7 separate regions of the Homo sapiens genome follow, and all the other regions are linked to region 2. The links are contacts of gene promoters, found by promoter capture Hi-C in human tissues and cell types (Jung and others, 2019). All regions are on one chromosome and are shown on one strand. Each heading gives the region's core, a stretch centred on a gene start or on the middle of the fragment in contact. The rest is flanking DNA. Distances are from core to core; before and after follow the strand shown. Region 1 overlaps LOC124903390 (a long non-coding RNA gene). Region 2 holds the start of ANKRD9 (ankyrin repeat domain 9). Region 3 has its middle 3.2 kb from the start of TRI-AAT5-4. Region 4 overlaps RCOR1 (REST corepressor 1). Region 5 overlaps CINP (cyclin dependent kinase 2 interacting protein). Region 6 overlaps RCOR1 (REST corepressor 1). Region 7 overlaps RCOR1 (REST corepressor 1).

Evidence for each region. Contacts are between HindIII fragments. The study calls those that stand out against the background at their distance.
Region 1: a fragment that was not itself captured here is called in contact with the fragment with the promoter of ANKRD9 in region 2 in 1 of the 25 tissues and cell types used here (mesendoderm cells).
Region 3: a contact is called between a fragment that was not itself captured here and the fragment with the promoter of ANKRD9 in region 2, in 1 of the 25 tissues and cell types used here (heart right ventricle).
Region 4: a fragment that was not itself captured here is called in contact with the fragment with the promoter of ANKRD9 in region 2 in 4 of the 25 tissues and cell types used here (IMR-90 fibroblasts, dorsolateral prefrontal cortex, hippocampus and 1 more).
Region 5: a contact is called between a fragment that was not itself captured here and the fragment with the promoter of ANKRD9 in region 2, in 6 of the 25 tissues and cell types used here (H1 embryonic stem cells, dorsolateral prefrontal cortex, hippocampus and 3 more).
Region 6: a contact is called between a fragment that was not itself captured here and the fragment with the promoter of ANKRD9 in region 2, in 1 of the 25 tissues and cell types used here (IMR-90 fibroblasts).
Region 7: a contact is called between a fragment that was not itself captured here and the fragment with the promoter of ANKRD9 in region 2, in 1 of the 25 tissues and cell types used here (heart right ventricle).

What each region holds. Positions count from the first base shown.
Region 1 is chr14:102,754,088-102,757,663 of GRCh38, forward strand. It overlaps LOC124903390 (a long non-coding RNA gene), which reads left to right. Exons shown (of 2, transcript XR_007064356.1): 2 at 1-3,576. Among named protein-coding and RNA genes, the nearest start is that of TRAF3, 22 kb to the right of the region's middle. RefSeq lists enhancers at 377-576, 647-816. The HindIII fragment of the contact is 8,282 bases long and covers 1-3,576 here.
Region 2 is chr14:102,508,258-102,511,802 of GRCh38, forward strand. ANKRD9 (ankyrin repeat domain 9) reads right to left here and starts at 1,519. Exons shown (of 4, transcript NM_152326.4): 1 at 1,272-1,519; 2 at 384-589; 3 at 218-292. LOC105370679 (a long non-coding RNA gene) reads left to right here and starts at 1,786. Exons shown (of 4, transcript XR_007064352.1): 1 at 1,786-3,294. RefSeq lists silencers at 307-468, 1,463-1,902, 2,063-2,112 and enhancers at 1,593-2,236, 2,237-2,882, 2,883-3,526. The HindIII fragment of the contact is 3,197 bases long and covers 310-3,506 here.
Region 3 is chr14:102,311,952-102,315,829 of GRCh38, forward strand. No RefSeq gene overlaps it. Among named protein-coding and RNA genes, the nearest start is that of TRI-AAT5-4, 3.2 kb to the right of the region's middle. RefSeq lists enhancers at 2,232-2,732, 2,626-2,705. The HindIII fragment of the contact is 3,723 bases long and covers 1-3,250 here.
Region 4 is chr14:102,711,902-102,715,634 of GRCh38, forward strand. It overlaps RCOR1 (REST corepressor 1), which reads left to right. Exons shown (of 12, transcript NM_015156.4): 8 at 2,522-2,716. Among named protein-coding and RNA genes, the nearest start is that of TRAF3, 64 kb to the right of the region's middle. The HindIII fragment of the contact is 8,777 bases long and covers 1-3,733 here.
Region 5 is chr14:102,351,609-102,354,973 of GRCh38, forward strand. The region is part of intron 3 of CINP (cyclin dependent kinase 2 interacting protein); the gene reads right to left. Among named protein-coding and RNA genes, the nearest start is that of CINP, 9.6 kb to the right of the region's middle. The HindIII fragment of the contact is 9,147 bases long and covers 1-3,365 here.
Region 6 is chr14:102,686,555-102,690,089 of GRCh38, forward strand. The region is part of intron 3 of RCOR1 (REST corepressor 1); the gene reads left to right. Among named protein-coding and RNA genes, the nearest start is that of TRAF3, 89 kb to the right of the region's middle. The HindIII fragment of the contact is 4,511 bases long and covers 1-3,535 here.
Region 7 is chr14:102,669,874-102,673,367 of GRCh38, forward strand. All of the region lies in intron 2 of RCOR1 (REST corepressor 1), which reads left to right. Among named protein-coding and RNA genes, the nearest start is that of RCOR1, 79 kb to the left of the region's middle. The HindIII fragment of the contact is 3,276 bases long and covers 60-3,335 here.

The sequences.
Region 1 (3,576 bases), core at 607-3,106, 250 kb after region 2:
ATAGATGAAGTTGCATTCTTGGAATATATATAAATCCTTATTTTGGGATGGGCCTATTGGTGTCAGCGTCTGATGTCTGTGTGATTTTTTTTTGACCTGCGTATCAGCAGGATGGTGACACACCAGGAAGGTCGTAAACTGGTCCGTGTCACTGTGAACAACACTGGCCTAAGAGAGGAAGAAAATGCATTTGGAAAGCCCAGCACTTGGAAATCCATCTGGTGGCGGGGAGCATGGAAAGGATCTGGTGGCCCCGAAGAGTCACTCAAGGACACAACGGAGCCAAACACCCTTTTTCATTTATTTGGATAGGTGGAATTTAGTTTTAATTATTTAAGAGAATACTTCATGAGATATTTTCAAAGAGAAATGGGATCTTAATAATCTGGGGCTCATTACACTCCTAGGCCATGAAATCTTTATACATCTCTGCTGGAGGTGCAGAGCAGCAGCCGGGCCTGGAGGACTGTGAACTTGGAGCGTGAGTGAGCAGAAGGTGGTGGCTGTGCTGTGTTAGAGGCTTCATTTCCTTGTCTGGGGTCCTGAGTTCAAGGGTGAGGCCACTTCCCAGGTGAAGTCACGGGAAGGAGCAATTCCAACAATGGCCATTGACAATGAGGAGAACGGAGGCAGGCTGGACACAGTCACCAGACTGCGAGAGCCGGCCTGAGGAGACTTGGAAACTGTCCTCCGCCAACCTGGCTGAATTTCACTCTTACTAAAGTTAACCCCACTCGAAGACTGGGGAATTCCAGCACCTCAGGGGAGAGGCTGAGTTATTTTTGCAACCCCAAATTAAATGATGCATGGTCGCTGGCTGTGCATGCCACGGGGCTTGATTTCCATTCCCCTGATTCACTCTTCCCTCCTCCAGGGCGCTCAGGCTCATGGAAACTGAGGGAAGCTCAGGGCCCTGACGACCCACCAGGCCCTGGCCAGGACACTGCATCCTGCTGGAAAGGAATGCCCCGTGAGGGGCTCACGGTGGATTTTTAATCCCTGTTCAGGTTCCCTGCCCTCACCCGAAAGGCCCCCACCCTTGAGCTCCCCCGGCAGCCCTGCATCTCTCTGGGGTCTTCCCAGGATGTGCTACAGAAGCCCCAAGCTGCACACGACCCAGCTCCTCACAGGCCTTTCTCCCAGACCCACTCTCCTTAGGCCCCCTGCCCTGGGTGTCTGGGCCAGCCAGACCGCTTGCAGCCTCAGCAACCCCCAACAGCCAGCTGATCATCAAATCCTGTCAATGACAGATCCTGAGCCCACCTCAGACCAACCCCTATGACCCACTTGCCAGTTGGAGTCCTGGCCTCTACTCAGACCCTTGACATCACTGTCCTCCGGTCTGACTGGTGGCCACAGTGGCCACCCACTCTGCCTGCGCCTGCCTTGGTCCACACTACCAGGAGTTTCCTTCCTGAAGAGGATCCAAGGATCCCATCACACATCTCAGCAGCCTTTGCCTGGACCCCTCCAGATAGGATTCAGACCTGCCCCTGACCTCCCTACTGGCCCTCTGTGTCCTGAGCACATGGCACCCTGGTATCTCTCTGCCACAGCCCATCTTGGGTCTGCTGCCTGAAGACCCCTCCTCTCCTCCCGAGCATGGAGGGCCCTGGGTGATCTTAAGAGGCGGCGGAAGCATTGCCTCCTTTCAGAGCCTTAGCAACTTGATGGACGTTATGGAATAAATGAATGAGTTCTTCTCCAAAAGAGGGAGCAGGGGTTCTGTGTTCCTTCTGTCCACCATCATCACGGAATCAGAGCACATCTGAGATGGGGGGACACAGCAATCCTTTGCTCCTCTTCATTGATTACAGGGAAACTGAGGCAGAGGTGGAGCCAGCCCCTGGCCTCCTGACTCCCAGGACAGGCCAGAGGCTACGAGACCACAGCCTCCCGAAGGGGACTCCCAAACTGCAAGACCGGACCCTGGGCTCCCCATGGCTGGAGCAAATGCCTCTGTATGTCCTCCCTCTGGAAATTCCTCCCCGAGGGACCCTCCGGAGAGAAGGATGTGACACTAACTCAGGACTCTCGAGGGTTCTTGGGGCACCTTTGAGAAGAGTCCAAGGCACTAAAATAGACTGGGTTCCCAGGAGTAAACAACCAAAAGGCTTAGTTAGACTCCTACTTGGAAAGTATGCCTACCTGTATCCCTATGCTGCTTAAACACCCCACCTCAGCAGAACCCCGCTAGGCACTGGGGCCCGGGTTCCCTGCATCTCGCCCACTGTGTCGGCTAAGACCATTTCAGCTGCAAGTATGAAACCTGACACAAATGGCTTGCGTGATAAGGAAAGTAGTGGCCTTTTCCAAGGAAGGACTCTTGGCTCTAGGCTCACCAGTTTGGCCCCTTGGTGGCATCTGCCTCCCTGCCTCCCTCCCTCCCTCCCTCCCTCCTTCCTTCCTTTCTTCCTTTCCTCCCTCCCTCCCTCCTTCCTTATTTCTTCTTTCTTCTTCCTTCCTTTCTTTCTTCCGGCAGAGTCTTTCTCTGTTGCCCAGGCTGGAATGCAGTGGTGCAATCTGAGCTCACTGCAACCTCCACCTCCCGGGTTCAAGCAATTCTCCCATCTCAGCCTCCTGAGTAGGTGGGATTACAAGGGTGAGACACCATGCCCGGCTAATTTTTGTATTTTTAGTAGAGACGGAGTTCTGCCATGTTGGCCAGGCTGGTCTCGAACTCCTGAACTCAAGTGATCCACCCGCCCCAGCCTCCCAAAGTGCTGGGATTACAGGCGTGAGCCACCACATCTGGCTGGCTCTTGGTGGCATCTTGAAGGCCATTTTCTCACCCTTTATCTCTGCCAAGCTCAGTAGATAGGATTCTGTGTGTCTTCTTTTGACCCAACCATCAGCAGCAGCAGGGAAGGCATCTTTGCCTCTGTCTTTTCTTTCTTTTTTTTTTTTTTAGATGGAGTCTTGCTCTGTCTACCAGGCTGGAGTGCAGTGGCGCGATCTCGGCTCACTGCAAGCTCTGCCTCCTGGGTTCACGCCATTCTCCTGCCTCAGCCTCCCGAGTAGCTGGGACTACAGGCACACACCACCACGTCCAGATAATTTTTTGTATTTTTAGTAGAGACGGGGTTTCACCGTGTTAGCCAGGATGGTCTCGATCTCCTGACCTCGTGATCCGCCCGCCTCGGCCTCCCAAAGTGCTGGGATTACGGGCGTGAACCACAGCACCCGGCCTTGCCTCTGTCTTCTTATCAGCCAAGAAGCCTTTCCCAGCATTCCTCAATAGCCACCCCTCACATCTCATTGGCTAGGATTGGGTCACATGCCCCAGGCTAAGCCAATCATTGTCTAGGAGAATCATTGGCTTAGCCAATCAGAGCCTATGCCTGAGGCACACAGGGCAATGCCTAGACCACAGGACAAAATTGGGCTTTGTCAGCAAGGAAGGAGGGGTGGCTGTTGGGTGGCCTGTGAGGCTGTCACCCATGTCCCCTCGCTTGTTCTGACAAAGGTTTTCATAAAAGAGCCACTTCTAGCCTGTCGTGGTGGGACCCTCAGATGTCCCTGTGCCCTCCAGCGTCTGGGCAACCTGAGGTTCTGGTAGGAGGAGAAGGCTACTTT
Region 2 (3,545 bases), core at 269-2,768:
AGAGCTTCTGTTCCCACCTAAGCCAGGTTCATACGACCCCAAATAAAGAAAAGGCCAGGGAGGGGATGAGAAAGCTTGGGCCCACATCTCAAGCTGAGGCAAATCCACTCTCCAGCCCAAGCGCAACCCTGACCCTGATCTCCGACCCCAGACCACTTGGAGGCCCCTGGAGCCTCTTCCTGGGCTGTTCAGAGGCATGATCCAGACTCAGACCTACCTGGTTCCTGCACCGCGATCACCTAGTTCCGGGGATGTGGGTATATCACAGTCCCTGGCCGAGCCTCAGCTTTATCTGTAAGAAAGGGGAGGGGTGGACGACGGCTGTGCGGGCGGGGTGAGCCTGGGGCGTGGCACCAGCCCTCTATCCAAACATGTTTGCTTACACGTTAGCTCCTGGGAGGAGATAGGAGGGTGAAAACAACCTGGAGACCGGTGTGCACCGCACTGCACAGTCTGCCATCCTCTTCAGGTCCCATACCTCTCTTGATCTCCCCGACTACTAGATGAAGCGGGTACTGCCATCCCACTTTCCAGCAGGGCACAAGCTTCTCCAATTCTCCAAGGTCAGCAAGCCACGGCAGAGCCAGGCCTAGAACTCAGGTCCCCTGCGTCTCAGTTTGGGCTCATTCCAGAATTGGTGGGGACCCCCAACCCACAGGCAATCGAGCTTAGGCCCTGACCCTGCCCTCTGAGTCCCCAGCCCCGACCTGAGCCTAGGCGTCTGACCTCTGGCTCCGTCCCAACCTCCCTACTGCCTTCTTTCAAGGGTAAGCCCTTGGTCACAAGGGGCCTGGGACAGAAGGCAGGCCGCGTCCACACACACTGACTGGGTCACTATCACTGGCAGTAACTGAGTTAAAGAGAGCGGCGCGGTGCGGGTAGGCTGTGGCCCGTGGGCAACACCGTGACTGGAGCCCCTTCCCCAAGCCTGGGCCTCCGGGCCCCAGATATGCCCTGTGCCGGCACGCGTGGGGCGCCGGGCGGGTTACGTAAAGTTCGGCCTCCCCACGTCACCGGGCAGAGTCACGGCCGCGGCTCGTGAATAAGGGGGTTGGGCCATCGAAGGCAGCGCCGCGCCCGGGGCCACCCGCCACCTCCTACCCGTCCCCTCCCGGCCTGCACGGCCAGACGTCGGGCGGCGGAGGGTCGCGGGGCCGAGCGGGGCGTCCGCGCGCAGGTGGCCGGCGCAGCGAGGGCTGCACCTGCGTGCGCGTGTGCCGGAGGAGGAGGGGGCGGCGGCCGCGGGCGCGGCGCGGGGGACGGGGACTCACCATGGGGGGCGCGGGGGCCACAGGCCGGGCGTCCCCGCCCCTGCCGCGGACCGGAGCGCGCGCTGTCCCCCGCGGGCGAGCGGGCAAAGGTCCCACGACGGACGCACGGGAGGGAGCCACCGCCGCCCGCGCCCGCCGCAGCCGCGCTCTGAGCCGCCGCGGCCGGATCGCAGGGCGGCGGTGCCGTCGCCGGCGGCGGGCGGCGGGCGGCGGGCGGCGGGCGGCGCAGTGCGGCCCCGGCCAGGCAGGACAGCGGGACCGTCCGCCGCCGCCATTGGCCCGCGCCGCCGGCCCCCGCCACCACCCATTGGCCGCCGCGCTGCACCATTGTTACGTCACTGGCCGGCGGGCGGGGCGCACCGCTGGACCCGCGGAAAACTTCGGAGAAACTTGAGGGAGCGCCGGCGGGGAGAACGGAGAGGAGGGGCGGGGCCGTGGCGAAAGGGGCGGGGCGTTGATGGGCGGGGGCGGGGCTCCCGGAACCCGAGCTGCGGGCGAAGAAAGGCTCCGAGCTCCGAGCTGCCCTAGCCCGGGAGGGCGCCGCTGCTCTGCGAACTCGGGCGCGCGCGTAGGTGGCCCGCCCTCCGCCGTGCGTGACTTTCCTCGTCGCGTCCAGCTCCCCTTTTCTTTGACCTTACGTGACCTTGGGAAAAACCTCCAGGCTGCTACCCCATCTGCACATGGGAGGGCCGGGGGTAGGAGCCGCGACCCCTAAGGGCTCCACCGCCTTCTGCCCGGCCAGGGTCGTGCCTGGCGCGCCCCCGCTCCAGCTGACCCGCGCAAGGGAGGGAGGGGCGGACGGATGGGGACAGCTGTTTAGGAGCGCGCACTGCGCCCATCTCGGCCTCAACACTCATGTTTCCACTTCGTTTCACGACCACCAGCCACAGTGGACACGATGATCCCCAGTTCACCCGCCAGCAAATCAGGGCTCAGAGAGGTGGCCTCAAAGAGAGGAGCGGCCAGGAGGGAAGCCGGGGGTTTGCCCTGCGGTTCTTCCCACATCTGGGCGGGATAGATTCGATTGGGCCTCGGCCACCCCCACCGTCTCCGTCGGGGGTTCCAAGGTTTGGGGTCATGACCTAGGGGGCTTAGGAGCCTGGGTCCATCTCAACTAATTTATGGCCTCACTCGCCCCCAGCGGCTGGGAATTCTAGGCCCATTTTACAGATGTGGACGCAGATCTGGAGAGGGGCAATGACTGCTCAACCCCCCACCCATCCTCCCAGACACGACCTTCCACCTGGAATCCCCCCACACACGTTCTCAGAGGCCAGGCAGCCGGGGTCTCATGGTGAAATCCCCACATTCCATGCAGGGGCTCTTTCTGGTTCCTTCCCTAGAATGCTGTCCCTGCCCTTCCAGTACTATCTCACCAGGGAGACCCTCCCACTCCCCCACTCCGCTCCAACCAAGCAAGGCCTCTGCCTCGCCCCGGTGGGAGGGGCCTCGTCCAGAGGGCACGCCCCTGCACACACAATCAGCCCTGTCCTGGCTTCTCTGTGTGCCCCAGCCAGTCAGTCTGGGTGGAAGTCTTACCTGGGCCCTCTCAACAGACCTAGGCAGGCCTCTGTCCCCAGCCCAACGAGCTCAATCCCTTAAGCACACACGCCACAGAGCAGTCCTGAGAGGCCAGGTGGACAGTACCATGAGGCAGACAAAGCTGTGAGGCCCAGAGAGGGTCAGGCCACCCCAGCCCAGGTAGGCACTCACATGTATCCTGCCCAGGCTGCCATGCATGGACCCACCAGGGGGATGACCAGACCCCACCAGCCCTGCCCCACCTCAGGGCGGGGGACGTTCCAGGCCACGCCATCTCTCCCAGGGAGTCCATGGCAACTGCCAAGCTTACAGCAGCCAGGTTGTCAGCAGGAGTAGGGGTATAGAGGGCACTGGGCCTGGCATCCGCACCCGCCTTTGCCTCAGCTCCACATGTCTCCTCCTGTATCTAGGCCTATCTCCCTAGGGCTTCTCCCATCTGCCGGTTCTGGATGCCTCTGAGTACGATGGTGGGGAGAGCAAAGTGAGTGAAGGTCCTGGAGTCAACAATCGGCCTTTGGGAGCCCAAACCCTGGGGGACATCTTGGGGAGATGGTGCCCATGTGGGCTGTCTGTGGCTCAAGGCTCCCCTGCTCTCTTGCCCTCTTCGAAGGCTGGAGTTGAGATACAGCCGTCTCCATGGCTACTGGTGGAATGAGGGTGAAAGGGCACCAGTGGATGCCAGGCTGTGCACTGGGCCTCAGGGCGGGTCTCTCTCCACCCCTTGATGTCTTC
Region 3 (3,878 bases), core at 139-2,638, 200 kb before region 2:
ATTAGCCGGGCGTGGTGGCACATGCCTGTAATTCCAGCTATTCGGGAGGCTGAGGCAGGAGAATCTCTTGAACCCGGGAGGTGGAGGTTGCAGTGAACTGAGATTGTGCCATTGCACTCCAGCCCGGGCAACAGGAGGGAAACTCTGTCTCAATACATACATACATACATACATACATACATACATACATACATACATACTTGTTGGATAATCAAGAAGCAATGCCACCTGCCACTTGTCACCTGCTCTGTCATTCCTTTCTGGCAGGGGCAAGCCCAATTTTAAATGACTATTGAGGATCCAGGACAACCTTTAACTCTTGATAAAATTAAACGGGCTGGTGAGAGAGAATCCTTGCTTACTTGAGTTTATAGAAGCCATGTGGCCTGTTCTTGGAGACCCAGAGAGGAAAAGGGCTTTGTTTGCCAAGGTTCCTCACTTGCTGGTGGCTCCCCTGGGCTTGGATCCTAGTTCGTGGCTTCCAGTTCCCTGTCTTCTACTGCTTATTATTATTATTGCTATTTTTTTTTTGAGATGGAGTCTTGCTCTGTTGCCCAGGATGGAGTGTAGTGGTCCCATCTCGGCTCACTACAACCTCCACCTCCCGGGTTCAAGCGATTCTCCCGCCTCAGCCTCCCAAGTAGCTGGGATTACAGGCACCCGCCATCACGCCCAGCTAATTTTTGTATTTTTGTAGAGACAGGGTTTCACCACATTGGCCAGGCTGGTCTTGAACTCCTGACCAAAGGTGATCTGCCCGCCTCTGCCTCCTAAAGTGCTGAGATTACAGGCGTGAGTCACCACGCCCAGCCTATTATTATTATTATTAGTTTATTTATTTTTGGGAGAGATGGAGTTTCTCCAAGTTGTCCAGGCTGGTCTCAAACTCCTAGGTTAAAGCGATCTGCTCGCCAAGGCCTCTCAACGTGCTGAGATGATAGGTGTAAGCCACTGCGCCTGGCCTTCTACTGCTCTTTCCTACATCTAACAAAGACTTTGGGCCTGGCGCGGTGGCTCCGCCCAAAATCCCGGCACTTTGGGAGGCTGAGGCGAGCAAATCACCTGAGGTCAGGAGTTCAAGATCAGTCTTGCCAACGTGGTGAAACCCCGTCTCTACTAAAAATACAAAAATTAGCTGGGCTTGGTGGTGGGCGCTTGTAATCCCAGTTACTTGGGAGGCTGAGGCAGGAGAATTGCTTGAACCTAGGAGGCAGAGGTTGCAGTGAGCCAAGATCACGCCATTGCACTCCTGCCTGGGTGGCAAGAGCGAAACTCCATCTCAAAAACAAAATAAAAAAGACTTTTGAGACTTTGTCAAAACTTCGCAATAATGTACGTGCTTCCAGGCCAAGGCAGGTGGATCACTTGAGGTCACGACTTCAAGACCAGGCTGGCCAACATGGTGAAACCCCATCTCTACTAAAAAGACAAAATTAGCCGGGCGTGGTGGTGAATGCCTGTAATCCCAGCTACTCAGGAGGCTGAGGCAGGAGAATCACTTGAACCCGGGAGGCGGAGGTTGCAGTGAGCCGAGCCAAGATCGCGCCATTGCGCTCCAGCCTGGGCAACAAGAGGGAAACTCCGTCTTAAAAAAAAAAAAAAAAAAAAAAAAAAAGGTCTTCAGAGTGACTTTAGTCCATTATGACTGGCGTCTACACAAAAGGGGCGATTTGGACATAGGGACACACAGGGAGAACAGTATGTGAAGATGCAGGCAGAGATCAGAGTGAAGCTTCTACAAGCGAAGGAAGGCCAAAGTTGGCCCGAAATCCACCAGAAGCCAGGAGACAGCCTGGGGCGGTCTCCGTGGGAGCCTCCGAAGGAAGCGACCTTCCCGACACCCTGACTTTGGACGTCTGCCTACTAGAACTGTGAGGCCATATATTCTGTTGTGTGGCCACCTACCTTATAATACTCTGCTGTGGCCGACCTGGGAAACTAACACAGCGGGTCGTTACTGTCAGACCAAAGGTTCCAACTTATAAACAGAATGAAACATTTCGTAAGTTGAGTTTAAAGAAAATGGATTATTTAAAATGCACATGGGCCCCCCGCCCCACATTAAAAAAACAAAAAACAAATACAAGGCGGAGGTTGCAGTGAGCCGAAATCGCGCCACTGCGCTCCAGTCTGGGCGACAAGAGCGAGACTCCGTCTCAAAAACAAAAACAAAAGCAAGAAAACAAGCCCGAATGGTATTCTCTACCACTTAATTCTGAAAGTATGTAGATTCGTGTTTTCGTCACTCAGAGAATGAAAATTAGCGTTTGTTTGTCTAAGAGCTCTAAGACGGGGTGAGAAGTGGAGGAAGAGGTCCAGAGGAGGAAAGAAAACTGCTCGCCCGCGCCCGCCCTGCAGCTGCACGTGGGTCGCCCTAAGCCTGGGTTCGGAGCTGATGGCGCAGGTCCCAGGTGCCCTCTAGCGGCTGACGTCAGTCACGGCGCCCCGGCCCCGGCGCGCCCCGTCCACTCTGCCCACTCGGGACGCGTGGCTTGAAGTCCCGGGAATGCCACGGTTGCACCCACAAGGGTCGATCAACTCGGCTTCCTTCAGGAGACCTGGACTGACCACCCGCTGTGTGCCAAGCACTGTTTAGGTGCTGGTAAAATAGAGCCCACTGCTCCTGGAGTTCGCTCTAGCGGTGGGAGGCCGACGATTAGCAGCGGGAATAAGCGATGGAGGGGGGTCGGGCCGGGAACCGCAGGGATCCTGGGTGCGGGTTGCGATTGCAAATGGGGGCATCGGGTAAACCTCGCTGAGTAAGTGACATTTAAGCAGCGACCACGACGAGGAGGAGGAGCTTTGACATTGTCTGCAGGAAAAGTGGTCCAGGAAGAGGAACAGAAGCGCAAAAGCCCCAGCACAGGAGCAAGGGCCAGGGAGGAGGCGGAGGGGCTGCCGCGGAGGGAGCCGGGCAGGGGTGCAGGAGGGCAGAGGGGAAAGGCGCAGGTCCGGTGGTGTCTTTCAACGGGATGTTACCCTGGGCGTAGGGTTGTCAGATACAGCACATGTATTCTTTTAGTATAAGTATGTCCCAAATATGGCGTGGGACATACTTACACTAAAAAAAGTTTCATTGTCCTTTTGCAATTCAATTTTAACCCGGCATCTTGATCTATATTTGCTAAATTTGGCAGGCCTGTTAGGGCTGCAACAAAAGGAGAGAGTGTGAGCAGAGAAATGACTTGATCTGACTGTTTTAAACCCATGTGACTCTTACCTATTGCTATGCCAGAGAGTGTGCTAGGTTCTGGGCATTCATTCAGCTGTAAGCAAAATGGACAGGATGCCTGCACCCCCACCAGTGCTCTGTGAGAGGGCTTTACCCCTTTGGCCTGCTCATCTATCCTTGTCCTTTGGACACAGTAAAGTGCTCCAGACTTCAGGACGCTTGCCCAGCCTCCCAGCACACCACCTAATCTTCTCCGTTCCCTATAATATCCGCCTTCCTTGTTATGCGGAGAGCTCCATCAGGATGGGGATTAGGTTTCTTTGACTCACAGCTGATTGGGGGCCAGGGCACTGCCGGGCTGAATGAGTATGTCTTCACTGAGTGTCCGTTTTTCTAAACCTGGTCCTCTAGCCTTACTCGTGGAGGGTGACCTACCTAACATCCTTTACATAAAATCTTTTCGAATCAGCTAGACTCGGTTTCTGCTGCTTGTGACATAGAACCCTGACGATACCTCAGTCCAAGCAGTTTAGTGGAGTAATCAGAGCAGAATGTATAATGTTAAAAAGCTGGCCCGATGCGGTGGCTCACGCCTGTAATCCTAGCACTCTGGGAGGCCGAGGCAGGCGGATCACTTGAGGTCAGGAGCTCGAGACCAGCCTGGCCAACATGGTGAAACCCCATCTCTACTAAAAATACACACACA
Region 4 (3,733 bases), core at 755-3,254, 200 kb after region 2:
GTATATGCCTGTATATTCATAATTCTGAATCTAGTCACTTTTTAAAAATAATATAATGGAAGCTTTGTAATTTTTAGAACCTTTTAAATTTACTCTACCTTGATTTTTTTTTTCTCTTTTTTCTTTTTTGAGACAGGGTCTCCTGTGTCACCCAGGTTGGAATGCAGTGGCACCATGACTCACTGCAGCCGCCAACTCCTGGGCTCAAGCAGTCCTTCCACTATGGCCTTGCAAAGTGCTGGGATAACAGGCATGAGCCACCTCCAGCCCTTGATTTTATTTTTTTTTATTTTGTTTTTGAGACAGTCTCTCACTCTGTTGCCCAGGCTGGAGTGCAGTAGTATGACCTTGGCTCACTGCAACCTCTGCCTCCCAGATTCAAGTGATTCTCCTGCCTCAGCCTACCGAGTAGCTGGGATTATAGGCACATGCCACCACGCCCTGCTAGGTTTTTTTTTTTGTATTTTTAGTAGAGATGGGGTTTCATCATGTTGGCCAGGCTGGACCTTGAATTTTTTTTTATGTCAAATATATTTGTATACGTAGCTATATATTATTCTGTCACATGAATGTTTCATAATTGAGTTACCTTATCCTATGTGGATTTCCCAGTTGTTTATTCCTCCTGTTTTTTGCTTTTATAAACAATGCTGGATTGATTCTCACATAACTCACTATCTGTGCTCATAGATTTTTTTCATTAGAACCGATTCCTGGAAGTTGTATTGTTGAGTCAACGTGTTCTAGATACATTGTTAAGGCTTTTTTTTTTTTTTTTGGTTGTATATCACCAAATTGGAAATTGGTCGTTTTTTTCTGCATAATTTATATGAATGCCCAAATAAGATCCTGAGGGTTAGCTAAATTAGATTGTTTGGGAAATCAAATTGTAGTTGTAGTTTTTATTAAGCTTTGTGTTGATGTATTGCTATTTACTAGGTTTTTCAGTGGCACATTTTAAATGAGAGAAAACACTTGATTTCATACATTTTTATAATTCTTATTTATATAATTTCTGATTCAGAAAGAAAATGGCTAAATCATTGTTTTTTTTTTTTTTTTTTTTTTTTGGAGATGGAGTCTTGCTCTGTTGCCCAGGCTGGAGTGCAGTGGTCCGATCTCAGCTCACTGCAGCCTCTGCCTCCCAGGTTCAAGCAGTTCTCTGCTTCAGCCTCCCAAGTAGCTGGGATTACAGGGGCCCGCAACCATGCCTGGCTAATTTTTGTATTTTTACTAGAGACGGAGTTTCACCATCTTGGCCAGGCTGGTTTTGAACTCCTGACCTCAAGTGATCCACCCACCTCGGCCTCCTAAAGTGCTGAGATTACAGCCGTGAGCCACCACACCTGGCCCGTAGTTTCTTTTTTTTTTTTTTGAGACGGAGCCTCACTGTGTCGCCCAGGCTGGAGTGCAGTGGTGCAATCTCGGCTCACTGCAAGCTGCGCCTCCCAGGTTCATGCCATTCTCCTGCCTCAGCCTCCCGCCATTCTCCTGCTTCAGCCTCCCAAGTAGCTGGGGCTACAGGCGCCCGCCACCGCACCTGGCTAATTTTTTGTAGTTTTAGTAGAGATGGGGTTTCACTGTGTTAGCCAGGGTGGTCTCAATCTCCTGACTTCGTGATCCGCCCGCCTCAGCCTCCCAAAGTGCTGGGATTACAGGCATGAGCCACCATGCCCAGCCACCTGGCCCGTAGTTTTTTTAAGTATTAAAATGATACTAGAACAGACGTAGTCAGTTGGTGATCTTTATTAAACATCGTAGTCCCATACACAGCAGTTTATTGCCTACTAATATTTTTGTATTACCCACTTGTTGAAGAAATTATCACTACCATTATAGTTTTGCAGTGTCTTTAGCTCAGTCTTTTAAAATATGAAGCAGAAAGTCATATTTTCAGCTTTATCAGTGAATGCTAATGCACTAACAAGATGGAATTATGAGCAATTATAAAAACTTCTTGTTCTTAAAATGGTTACCAGTAAGTTATATTCTTTAACTTGACAAGATTTTACTGTGTTTCATTTCTGAAAGTTTTGGTTTTACAGAAATTAATAGCCGTCATGCATTTTAAAATGATAAGGTATATTATTTTAGAGTAAGTTATATAAGTTGCCGTAAAAATTGTGTTATCCAAAAATGTGTATAAAAAGCTGTAATTTCATGTAGCTAAATACAGATGTGTGTGTGGCCACAAAACTCATTAGCAGAGAATACAGATTTTTTTCTTTCTATATTACTAGAGGAAGCTGAGAATTCTTATTTTCATTGGCTTGAAACGATAGAGTAAGGAAGTATTTGTACAAGAAGGAGTGGAACACAGTTTCATTGTGTTTAGTCAAAACTCAGTAGCCCAAATTCTGTCTGTGAACTGCCTGTTAGAATTTATAGATCTCATTTGGTTCTGATAGGGCATGGTATTTGTCTTAGATTGTTTTGGTGCCATGTTAAGGAAATAAATATGTTTATTACTGATCATTTGACTTTTTTTAAGTTTCATTCATCACCTGTGTATATCATGCAGGTTCCCCCTACTGAGACAGTTCCTCAGGTCAAAAAAGAAAAACATAGCACACAAGCTAAAAATAGAGCAAAAAGGAAACCTCCAAAAGGAATGTTTCTTTCTCAAGAAGATGTGGAGGCTGTTTCTGCCAATGCCACTGCTGCTACCACGGTGCTGAGACAACTAGACATGGAATTGGTTTCAGTCAAACGACAGGTACTCATAAGCCTGGTCTTGGATGTAAAAGAATTAATTAGCACTTTAGAGGTGTTTCTGTTATTCATATATGTGAATGTTCTCTTTCCGCAAATCTCAAAGGAGCATTTTGTTTCGAAGGAATTGGACAGATCTTAAGTACCAGCCCATTGTTTTTCTTTTTAATGAACATATAAATTGAAGTGTATGGATATAGTGTGATCTGAAAGTATTTCTGAAGTATATAGCAAAGCATATGAATATCATATTTATATTATATATGTGTCTGTGTCTCCATGATTTCTCACAATATGAACATACCCTAGTAACCTGCATCTGGATCAAAAAATGGAATGTTGCCCCCAGGCCCATGCATTTTCCCTCCTGGTCACTATTCCATGGAATGTTGCATTCCCTCAGCAACTCCACCCCTCTTTTATTACCTGACTCCTCCTTGTAGGTGGCCACTATTCTGATTTTTTTTTTTTTTGAGACGGTGTCTCGCTCTGTCGCCCAGGCTGGAGTGCAGTGGCGCGATCCCGGCTCACTGCAAGCTCTGCCTCCCCAGTTCATGCCATTTTCCTGCCTCAGCCTCCCGAGTAGCTGGGACTACAGGCACCCACCACCACGCCCAGCTAATTGTTTTTTGTATGTTTAGTAGAGACGGGGTTTTACCATGTTAGCCAGGATGGTCTCGATCTCCTGATCTCATGATCCACCCGCCTCGGCCTCCCAAAGTGCTGGAATTACAGGCGTGAGCCACCGCGCCCGGCCCTGATTTTTTTTAATTTTATTTTGTTTTTGAGACAGTGTCTTGTCCTGTTGCCCAGGCTGGAGTGCAGCGGTGCGATCTTGGCTCACTGTAACCTTTGCTTCCGGGGCTCAAATGATCCTCCCATCTCAGCCTCCCAAGTAGTTGGGAGTACAGGCGCTTGTCATCACACCTGGCTAATTTTTTGTGTTTTTGGTAGAGACGGGGTTTTGCCATATTCCCCAGGCTGGTCTTGAACTCCTGAGCTCAAGTGATCTGCCCGCCTC
Region 5 (3,365 bases), core at 67-2,566, 160 kb before region 2:
CAAATATCTTAATTCCTTTACTTGGTCCTTCCAACCACCCTCCAATTACATTGGAAGTGGCAAGCACTAAATTCAGCTAACGTTAATTTTTAAAGGACTTTACTTAAGTAGTTTCCCAAATCTTTTAAGGTTTGATATTTTATTTGGCCCAACCCCAAGAGGCAGGACTTGTCATTTCCGTTTCACAGCTGGGAAATTGCTTAAGGTTGAGCTGAGGAAGGATGAGGCCAGAACTCGATACCATGCCTTCTGACACCAAGTTTTTTTGTTTTTGTTTTTGTTTTTGTTTTTTTTGAGACAGAGTCTCGCTTTGTCACCCAGGCTGGAGTGCAGTGGCGCGATCTCCGCTCACTGCAACCTCCGCCTCCCGGGTTCATGCCATTCTCCTGCCTCAGCCTCCCAAGTAGCTGGGACTACAGGCGCCCGCCACTGTGCCTGGCTAATTTTTTTGGTACTTTTAGCAGAGCTGGGGTTTCACTGTGTTAGCCAGGATGGTCTCGATCTCCTGACCTTGTGATCCGCCCACCTCAGCCTCCCAAAGTGTTGGGATTCCAGGCGTGAGCCACCGCGCCCAGCCGACACCAAGTTTTAACACCCAATCCTCTGCTCTTTCCTGTGAGTCCTGCAGCAGCTCCCTGGTGCCACCTGATTCTAAGAAAAGCTGATAACAGGAGACTAAGGAAAATTCTGGAGCCTTGACCCCAGGCAAGAAGTCATGCTCAATCCTGCAGCTCAGCCATCAATAAAGAATTCAAGTCACATAGGCACGTGCAGCCCTGAATGAACAGTGCATAAACAGCAGGCCCTTACATTTCAACATCGGTGGCTTCTTCCCACAGCAAACACAGACCACAGTGAAATGTTAGCCCAGCTTAGGAAGAACGGTGCATGAAACCCCCAGAAGGTCAAAGTTATGAAAGACACAGACCAGGTCTGGAAACCATTCTCTATAACGGATAGAGGAAAATAGGAAAAATAATAATACCCTATAAAATCAACTTTTGGTTTTGAACATAGAATGAGAACTTATTCCCAAACCACTTTTCTTTTTCTTTTTTTCTTTTTTTTGACACGGAGTCTCACTCTGTGGCCCAGACTGGAGTGCAGTGGCTTGATCTCGGCTAACTGCAACCTCCGAAAGTGATTCTCCCGCCTCAGCCTCCCAAGTAGCTGGGATTGCAGGCACCTGCCACCACCCCCAGCTAATTTTTTGTATTTTTAGTAGAGATGGGGTTTCACTATGTTGGCCATGCTGGTCTCAAACTCTTGACCTCAGGTGATCCACCTGCCTCGGCCTCCTAGAGTGCTGGGATTACAGGCATGAGCCACTGCGCCTGGCCAAAACAAAAATTAAAAAAAAACAAATAAAAATACAACAATTAGCTGGGTGTGGTGGCAGGCACCTGTAATCCCAGCTACTTGGGAAGCTGAGACAGGAGAATCACTTGAACCCAGGAGGCAGAGGTTGCAGTGGGCAGAGATCACCCCACTGCACTCCAGCCTGGGCAACAAGAGTGAAACTCCATCTCAAAAAAAAAAAAAATTAACAAATGGGAGGGAGGGAACAAATCTCCCACGCAGAATAATTCCAAATAATTTATGTAGATACTGCACCCTCAAGCAGGTGGTGAATACGTCCCTACCCCCAGGTGTGGGCTATGCATAGTGACTTCCTGCCAAAGAGCACAGCGTGGGAGGAGGAGAAAGAGCAACGTCACAGCAGAGGAACCTGGAAACACTGCCCAGCCAGGTGATCAAGGTCAACTTCAGCAGTGGAAAGTCCTGGCTGTGCACAGTGGCTCACGCCTGGAATCCCAGCACTTTGGGAGGCTGAGGTGGGAGCACTGCTTGAGCCCAGGAGTTTGAGACCAGCCCGGGCAATAGGTGGGACCCAAAGAAAAGTCCTGATGACAGTATATCCAGTACGTGCCCTTGATATGACATGATAGAAATGGCACTTTACTTCTGTGGTCCTCCTCTGAACAAAACCCGTAACCTCAGTCTAATTAGGAGAAAAACATCAGATAAATCTCATGATGTTCTACAAAATACCTGACCAGTATCCCTCAACATTGTCAAAGTCATCAAAAACAGGGAAGTCTGAGAAACTGTCACGGCCAAAAGGAGCCTGAGGAAACAAGGGGACTCGATGTCATACAGGATCCTGAAGCCAAAACAAGACATGACGGAAAAGCTAAGGCAGGGCGCCAGGGCTCACACCTGTGATCCCAGCACTTTGGGAGGCCAAGGTGGGAAGATCACTTCATGTCAGGAGTTCGAGACCAGCCTGGCCAACATGAGAACCCCGTCTGTACAAACGAATTTTAAAAATTAGCCGGGCATGATGGTTCATGCTTGTAGTCCCAGCTACTCGGGAGGCTGAGGCAAGAAGATCACTTAAGCCCAGGAAGTAAAGGCTGCAGTGAGCTGTGATCATACTACTGCATTCCACAGCGAGACCTTGTCTCCAAACAAACAAAAAGGTGAAAATATAAAGATCTTAAATGTTTATGGGTAAGCTTCAGTTATCCAAGTTCAAATATGTGTAAAACCTGATTTCCTGTGCCTAGCAAAGAAATAAGGTGGTGTTATCTTCACATCTGGTGGCCAGTATGGTAGGTATTGAAATTTAGTTATTAGTTCATTAAACAAACACTTTAGTCTCTTACGTGCTGTATCAGGGATGGGCAAACTATCCCTGGAACACAGGTCAATTCTGGCCCATAGCCTATTTCTGTATGGCCCATAAGCTAAGATGGTTTTTACATTTTTAAATGGTTGAAAATAACCAAAAGGACAATAGTGATTGTGACTCATAAAAATTATACAAAATTCTAATTTCGGTGTCCAAAGATAAAGATTTCCTGGACGAACATGGTGGCTCACGCCTGTAATCCCAACACTTTGGGAGGCTGAGGTGGGTGGATCACTTGAGGCCAGGACTTCGAGACCAGCCTGGCCAACATGGTGAAACCCCATCTCTACTAAAAATACAACAATTAGCTGGGCATGGTGGCGCACACCTGCGATCCCAGCTATGTGGAAGGTTGAGGCACAAGAATTGCTTGAACCCAGGAGGCGGAGGTTGCAGTGAGCCAAGATCTCGCCACTGCACTCCATCCAGCCTCAGTGGCAGAGTGAGGCCCTGTCTCAAAAAAAACAAAAACAAAAACAAAAAAGGCCAGGTGCGGTGACTCACGCCTGTAATCCCAGCAGTTTGGGAGGCCAAGGCAGGCTGATCACTTGAGGTCAGGAGTTCGAGACCAGCCTGGTCAACATGGTGAAATGCTGTCTCTACTAAAAATACAAAAATTAGCTCATGTGGTGGCACGAGCCTGTAATCCCAGCTACCTGGGAGGCTAAGG
Region 6 (3,535 bases), core at 263-2,762, 180 kb after region 2:
GTTTCACTGGTTTAAGAAACCTCTGTGCTCCACCTGTTCATCTCCCTCTCTGCCTCCTAAACCCTGGCAACTGTTGATCGTTTTACTGTTTCTGTAGAATGCCTTCCAGCTGGAATCATATAGTATGTAGCCTTTTCAAATTGGCTTCTTTCACTTAGCAATATGCATTTAAGGTTCCACTGTCTCTTTTCATGGCTGGATAGTTCATTTCTTTTTAGTGCTGAATAATATACCGTTGTCTAGCTATGCCACAGTTTATCTGGTGTATTGTCATGCTAGGAACCCCTCTCCCACCCCCACATTACAAACAGACTGATGTCTTCTGTCGTCTTCTCCTTTTTTACATCGTTGTTTCAACTGAAATTATTGGATTATATTTTTTCCTTCACTTACATTAAACTCATACATACTTTGTGCCTGGACTTCATTCTTTTCAGTGTACCTGGCTCTATATTTATTCTTTTAGGTGAATCTTAGATTTGTGGTAACAAGTTCTGTCCAAAAGTATCTCAATTCAGATTATACGGAATTCGTGTTTATCTACTGAGTTTTCATTTACGTTTTATATTGAACAGCTTTTTGTCTGGGAATGTACCAGGAGTGAAAGGTTCAGGAATCTCATACTGTAATGGAGAGACAGAAAAAATGAACATGTGAGCAAATAATTTATGTGTAGTTTTCCTAGGCAACTCTTCCTTTTTAGAGGTAGAAACACTGGGGTCTACAGAAGTAAAGTCAAGTGTTTAAGGTCCCATAGCCAGTTATTACAGTAGCCAAGTTTTAGCTAGATCTCTTGTCTCCAGACAATATTTACCACACCTGTCTGCCTTTGTAGGCTGCTTCATTTAATAAACTGTAATTCAACGCTTAAAACATTAATACTATACTAGTTTTTTTGGGCTGTGTCTAAGTAAAACCCATTTAATGAGAGATATAACTTATGGGATATGCCTAGAAAATGTGGCCTGTAGAGAGACATTTCATGTTGAGGAAGCGTAAATAATTCCCAATAACATAGATTAGAACAATGAGTTTAAATATTAAGTGATCATGGAAAATTACTTGATGAAACCATGGCTTGAGATTTCAGCAACAAAGGAGTGAATGAAGTACAATCTGCCATCATGTGTAATCTGGAGGGTGGCAGACTGAGAAACTGAAAAATGTTCACTTATTGGAGAAGAGTACAGTTGACTCATATGATTTTTACATCAAGCATCTCCCATGTACCACTGAGTCAGTATTCTGATGTTCCCGTTGGGACTCAGCAGAAGGTGCTAGCTTTCCTAGGTAGAAACAAAGAGTTGAAGATGGTTGACATTTGATTGAAATGTGGAAGAATGAGTAGGAGTTTGCTGGCTGGACCAGGGGCATAAGTGCACACTAGACAGAAGAAATGATAGCATTTCCTTTTTTTTTTTTTTTTTTTGAGATAGAGGTCTCGCTCTGTTGCCCATGCTGGAGTACAGTGGCGTGATCTTGGCTCACTGCAACCTCTGCCTCCTGGGTTCAAGCAGTTCTCCTGCTTCAGCCCTGCGAGTAGCTGGGATTACATGCGTGTGCCACCACACCCGGCTAATTGTGTGTTTTTAGTAGAGACAGGGTTTTACCATGTTGGCCAGGCTGGTCTTGAACTCCTGACCTCAGGTGATCCTCCTGCCTTGGTCTCCCAAAGTGTTGGAATTATAGGCGTGAGCCACTGCGCCCGGCCAGCATTTTCATTTTTAAAGGTGTGAAGATGTGGAGAGGAAATCCAGCACTTAATTTTGGAGATTTGCCTGACTGTGACAAGTGTTGTCCTGGGGCAGAGAGAAATGAAACTAGAAAGGCAGGCCAGCTTCTTAAAGGTTTGGAGGATCTCTTGACGGAGTTTTAGCTAGAACTGATATGATTTACACTGAAAAGCTCTTGACAGTCCTGTGGTTTAGAGAAGAGTAGAGAAGAGGTTTATTGGTGGTAGTAAGGTGTTGATGCAATTCCAAGTCAGAGAAGTTGATTGCCTAACCGGGTCAGTGCTGTTAAAAGGCGGCATGATGGAAATTCAGGAAGTCAAGTCAGGAGTATCTTAACTTGCCCCAAAGAGATGGAGACCATAGAATTGTGGGCTTAGTGACTGGTTCAGGCAGCCTTTAACATGCCTGTAAAGACTATTAAATGCCGTTAAGTATAGGTGCACTGTTCCATCATTTACTCCACACGTTTCTGTTGAACCCCTATGAGGCACTCCGTTGCTGTGATACGGTATCATCTCTCCTCAGTCCCCACTGTGATATTGTGCAGCCACCCTTTGCATGGATTCCACACCCTACCTCTGCACATCCTGTTTATACCATTCCAGGCTGCCCGCCTTTGGGGACTCCATCCTCATTCCAGTTGATCTGCACCCTAAATGCCCACCTTGCTCAGCCCTACCCACCAGCTTTAGGATACCACCTCTTGCCTTCATGCAGACACCACTGCACTGCGCAGTGTACTTTTGACAGTCCCCTCTTGTCACTGTGCTTACGTGTAGACCTACCTCAAGTTTGGACTTCGTTTGTTTAGAGAAGCAGCTGAACGTTAACAAAGTGGGCGTATTAGAGTTTAAAATATATGTAGAGTTTAGGCCAGATTGTAGGCCCAGTCTGGTTCCTTTTACTGACTTAGGAAAAACAAAGTTTACCCAGGCACGTGTGGTTAAATATAATGCAAAACTGTGGTCCAAGGGTCTTAATGAAATGGATAGATTAATCTGAGGATTTTTTTTTTGTTGCTTGATTATTATTATTTTTTTTAAGGTAGGGCTTGAAAAGAAGGGGAGTGGAACTAGAGGGGAAGCTCGGGTATAGCCTTGTCTGTTGTTTATAGTCTGCTTTTTAAAAATATATAATCAACTAAATTGCTCATGCTGAATGATGTTGATAGTTCCCAGAAGGAGCAAATTTCTCAGATGGGCTGCTGTTGCCTTGGGTGTAGAATTTAGCAAGGTGACTTTTGGCTATTGGATATCCATAGAAACAGATGGTCTTGCTCATTTATGCATTATGCATTTTATAAGTTATATATAGTAAGTGTTTGTGCAGTTATTTAAGTGTTTGCATTTTGGGTTTTTTATTTTATAAAAATGAGGAAAAACTGGTCCAGTGGTAAGAATCATGGATCTCTGTGTTAAAATAGACAAAAATGGAAATCGTTAGCTGTGCCAAAAACAAGCTGGCTGATTTTTTTGAGACAGAGTCTCGCACTGATGCCTGGGCTAGAGTGCAGTGGCGCAATCTCAGCTCACTGCAACCTCTGCCTCCCAGGTTCAAGCTATTCTCCTGCCTCAGCCTCCCTAGTAGCTGGAATTACAGGCACCCGCCACCATGCCCAGCTAATTTTTTGTATTTTTAGTAGACACGGGGTTTCACCATGTTGGCCAGGCTGGTCTCAAACTCCTGACCTTGGGATTTGCCTGCCTCAGCCTCCCAAAGTGCTGGGATTACAGGCGTGAGTCACCGCGCCCGGCCTGATTTTTTTTTTAAGCTAGCTATTAACTATATAAGGAAAAAAATTG
Region 7 (3,494 bases), core at 448-2,947, 160 kb after region 2:
ATTAAGTTAAATTTACTCATGCGTAGCATCTCAGGATATATTGAAAGTATGGGTGGCCAGTCCATACATTTAAGAATAAGAATTATAAGAATTTAGAGACAGAGCCTTGCTTTGTACCCCAGGCTGGAGTGCAGTGGTGTGACCTCAGCTCACTGCAACCTCTGCCTCCTGGGTTCAAGCAATTCTCCGGCCTCAGCCTCCTGAGTAGCTGGGATTACAGGTGTGTGCCACCATGCCCGACTAATTTTTATATTTTTAGTAGAGACGGGGTTTCACCATGTTGGACAGGCTGGTCTCAAACTCTTGACAGCAAGTGATCTGCCTGCCTTGGCCTCTCCCAAAGTGCTGGGGTTACAGGCATGAGCCACTTCACCCGGCCAGAATTTACCTTTTTAAAAAGCTTTATTTATTATCTTTTTGAGTCCTACTGATGAGTAATTTGGAGTTTCATGTGTCCTTTTTATATAGGTATTAGAGTATGACAATGACATCTATAATGGGATAGAATTTAAATTTTAAAGCAAACCAAACAGCTGTCCTATTTATGAGTGCTAACTTAAAGATGGTTTGATAACATGAAGGTAACGGTACTATGAATGTGAATGTAATGACCCTATATATACACAATAAATATACACAATATATATACAGTTCTCTGTTTATACTTTTCAGCTTCAGTTTTCTTGTTCTGAATTTAAGCAAGAAGGTAGCATTTAATTCATAGCTTATTGTGCTACTCCTGTTTTCATACCTCTTCCTTAAGCTTCTGGTAAAATTAAAACATTTCAAGTAGAGTTTAGGATTGTAGAAAACAAGGCATGTTGTTAAAACCTGTAATTGTGAGCGTGTCTTAAAATGACAAGATTATTATATATATATATATATTTATTTATTTTACTTATTTATTGATTGATTTTGAGATGGAGTCTTGCTCTTGTCGCCCAGGCTGGAGTGCAGCGGTGTTGTCTCAGTTCACTGCAACCTCTGCCTCCCGGGTTCAAGCAATTCTAGTGCCTCAGCCTCCCAAGTAGCTGGGATTACAGGCACCTGCCACCATGCCTGGCTAATTTTTGTATTTTTAGTAGAGATGGGGTTTCACCATGTTGGCCAGGCTGGTCTTGAACTCCTGACCTCAGGTGATCCACCCATCTTGGCCTCCCAAAGTGCTGGGATTGCAGGTGTGAGCCACCGCACCCAGCCCTATCTTATAATTATTGATAGCAAGAAAAGCATATTCACCATTTGTTTCAGTTCTCATTGTTTTCGCTTCCCCTTCTGTGTTTATCCATTTGGCCATTCTCTTTCTTGTGTTCATCTTTCTGTTCTGACTCAGGTCATTGAGGATATGGTTGGACCCTGAATGGTAGAAACACAACTCCCTCTTCCCCTCGACTCCACAGACTTAATGTGATTTTTTAGGGTATAGGGGAGGGGGTTATGAGAATGTGGGAACCCAAGCAGGTGTTCTAATGGCTGTGGAGTAACCTGTCTTCTCCTTCCAGTTAGTTTCTGTGTTTTGTTTGTTTGTTTGTTTTAAAGAGACAGGGTCTCTCCCTCTGTCGCCCAGGCTGGAGTGCAGCAGGGTGATCATAGCTCACTACAGCCTTGAACTCTTGGGCTCAAGCAATCCTTTAGCCTCACCCTCTGAAGTAGCTGGGACTACAGGTGCTTACCACCATATCTGGCTAACTTTTAAAAACTTTCAGAGATAGGGTCTCACTGTGTTGCCCAGGCTGGCCTTGAACTTCTGGCCTCAGCTGATCCTCCCACCTCAGCCTCCTGAGTAGCCTTGCTTTTTAAATAACAGCTTTACTACAATAAAATTAACAAAACACGCAGTTCACTTATTTAAAATATGCAAAATTCAGTGGTTTTCGGTATATTCAGAGTTGTGTAACTATCACCACAAATCAAATTTAAAACATTTTATCATCCCATGAAGAAATGCTGTACCTGTTAGCAGTGGCACCCTGTTATTTCAAATGCCCTACAGCCTCTGGCAATCACTAATCATCTTTCTGTCTGGACGGTTCATGTAAATAAAATCATACAATAGGCTGTGGATTTTTGTGCATGTGACTGGCTGCTTTCACTTAGCATAGTGTTTCAAGTTTCATACTGAGCATGTGTTAGTGTTTTATTTTCATGGCAGTATAAAGTTCTGTCATATAGACATACTGCATTTTTTTATTCAATCGGTTGATGGGCATTTGGGTTGTTTCTACCTTTTAGCTGTTGAGTAATGCTGCTATGAAAATTTATATACAAATTATTATGTGGATATATGTTTTTATTTCTTTGGGCTGTATACCTAGGAGTGGATTTTCTGGGTTATATGATAATTTTTTTTCTTTTTTGAGATGGAGTCTCGCTCTGTTGCCCAGTCTGGAGTGCAGTGGTGCGATCTCGGCTCACTGCAAGCTCCACCTCCTGTTACGCCATTTTCCTGCCTTAGCCTCCCGAGTAGCTGGGACTACAGGCGCCCGCCACCACACCCAGCTAATTTTTTTTTGTATTTTTAGTAGAGACGGGGTTTCACCATGTTAGCCAGGATGGTCTCCATCTCCTGACCTCATGATCCGCCCGCCTCGGCTTCCCAAAGTGCTGGGATTACAGGTGTGAGCCACCACGCCCGGCCTCTGGGTTATATGATAATCTTTTGAGGAATGGCACCATTTTATATTCCCAACATTTTAGCCAAATAATCTGACTAAAAACAGGCAAAAGAGCTGAATAGACATTTCTCCAGGGAAGATACTCAGATGGCCAATAAACTTATCCAATATGCTCAACCTCTTTATTCAGGGAAATGCAAATCAAAACCACAGTGAGAGACTACTTCACACCTGCTGGCTAGAATCAAAAAGTCAGATAATAACAAGTGTTGGTGAGGATGTGTAGAAATTGGAACTCTCATACCCTGCTGGTGGGAATGTAAATGTAAATTGCTGTTCTGCTCCCAAACAGTTGACAAGTAAAATATAGCATTATAGAGTGAGAAATAACTCAGAGTTTCAGAGTAGAACTGAAAATATACTAGAAGAGTATTTTCCTTAGTGTTGGACTAGATGATTTTAAATTTGAACACAGACATTGTATCAGGTAACATCAAATCATACAGTGAAGGGTTTCTCACAATGTACACAAAATAGTATTTGTCTGCTTAACACTGGGATTTGCAAAGAACAGTGAAATATTACAGTGTTACAAAGCAAGATCTTCCTCTCTTTAAATGCCTGTTAACCTGATTTTAAGAATATCTTTATTGTATACATCTTATTCTTTAAATGTACCCCATAACTAATAGTACCAATTTTATGTTTTCAACATTTAAGTTATGATATTATACATTTCCTTTAACTTGCTTTTTCTATTCAAACTGGTTGATAGCTGTAGATCTGATTTTGTTTTCTATATTTAATTCCCTTGAAGTCACATACCACGGTTTATCCAATCCCTGATTTTTTTTTTTTTTTTTTTTAAGACAGAGTCTC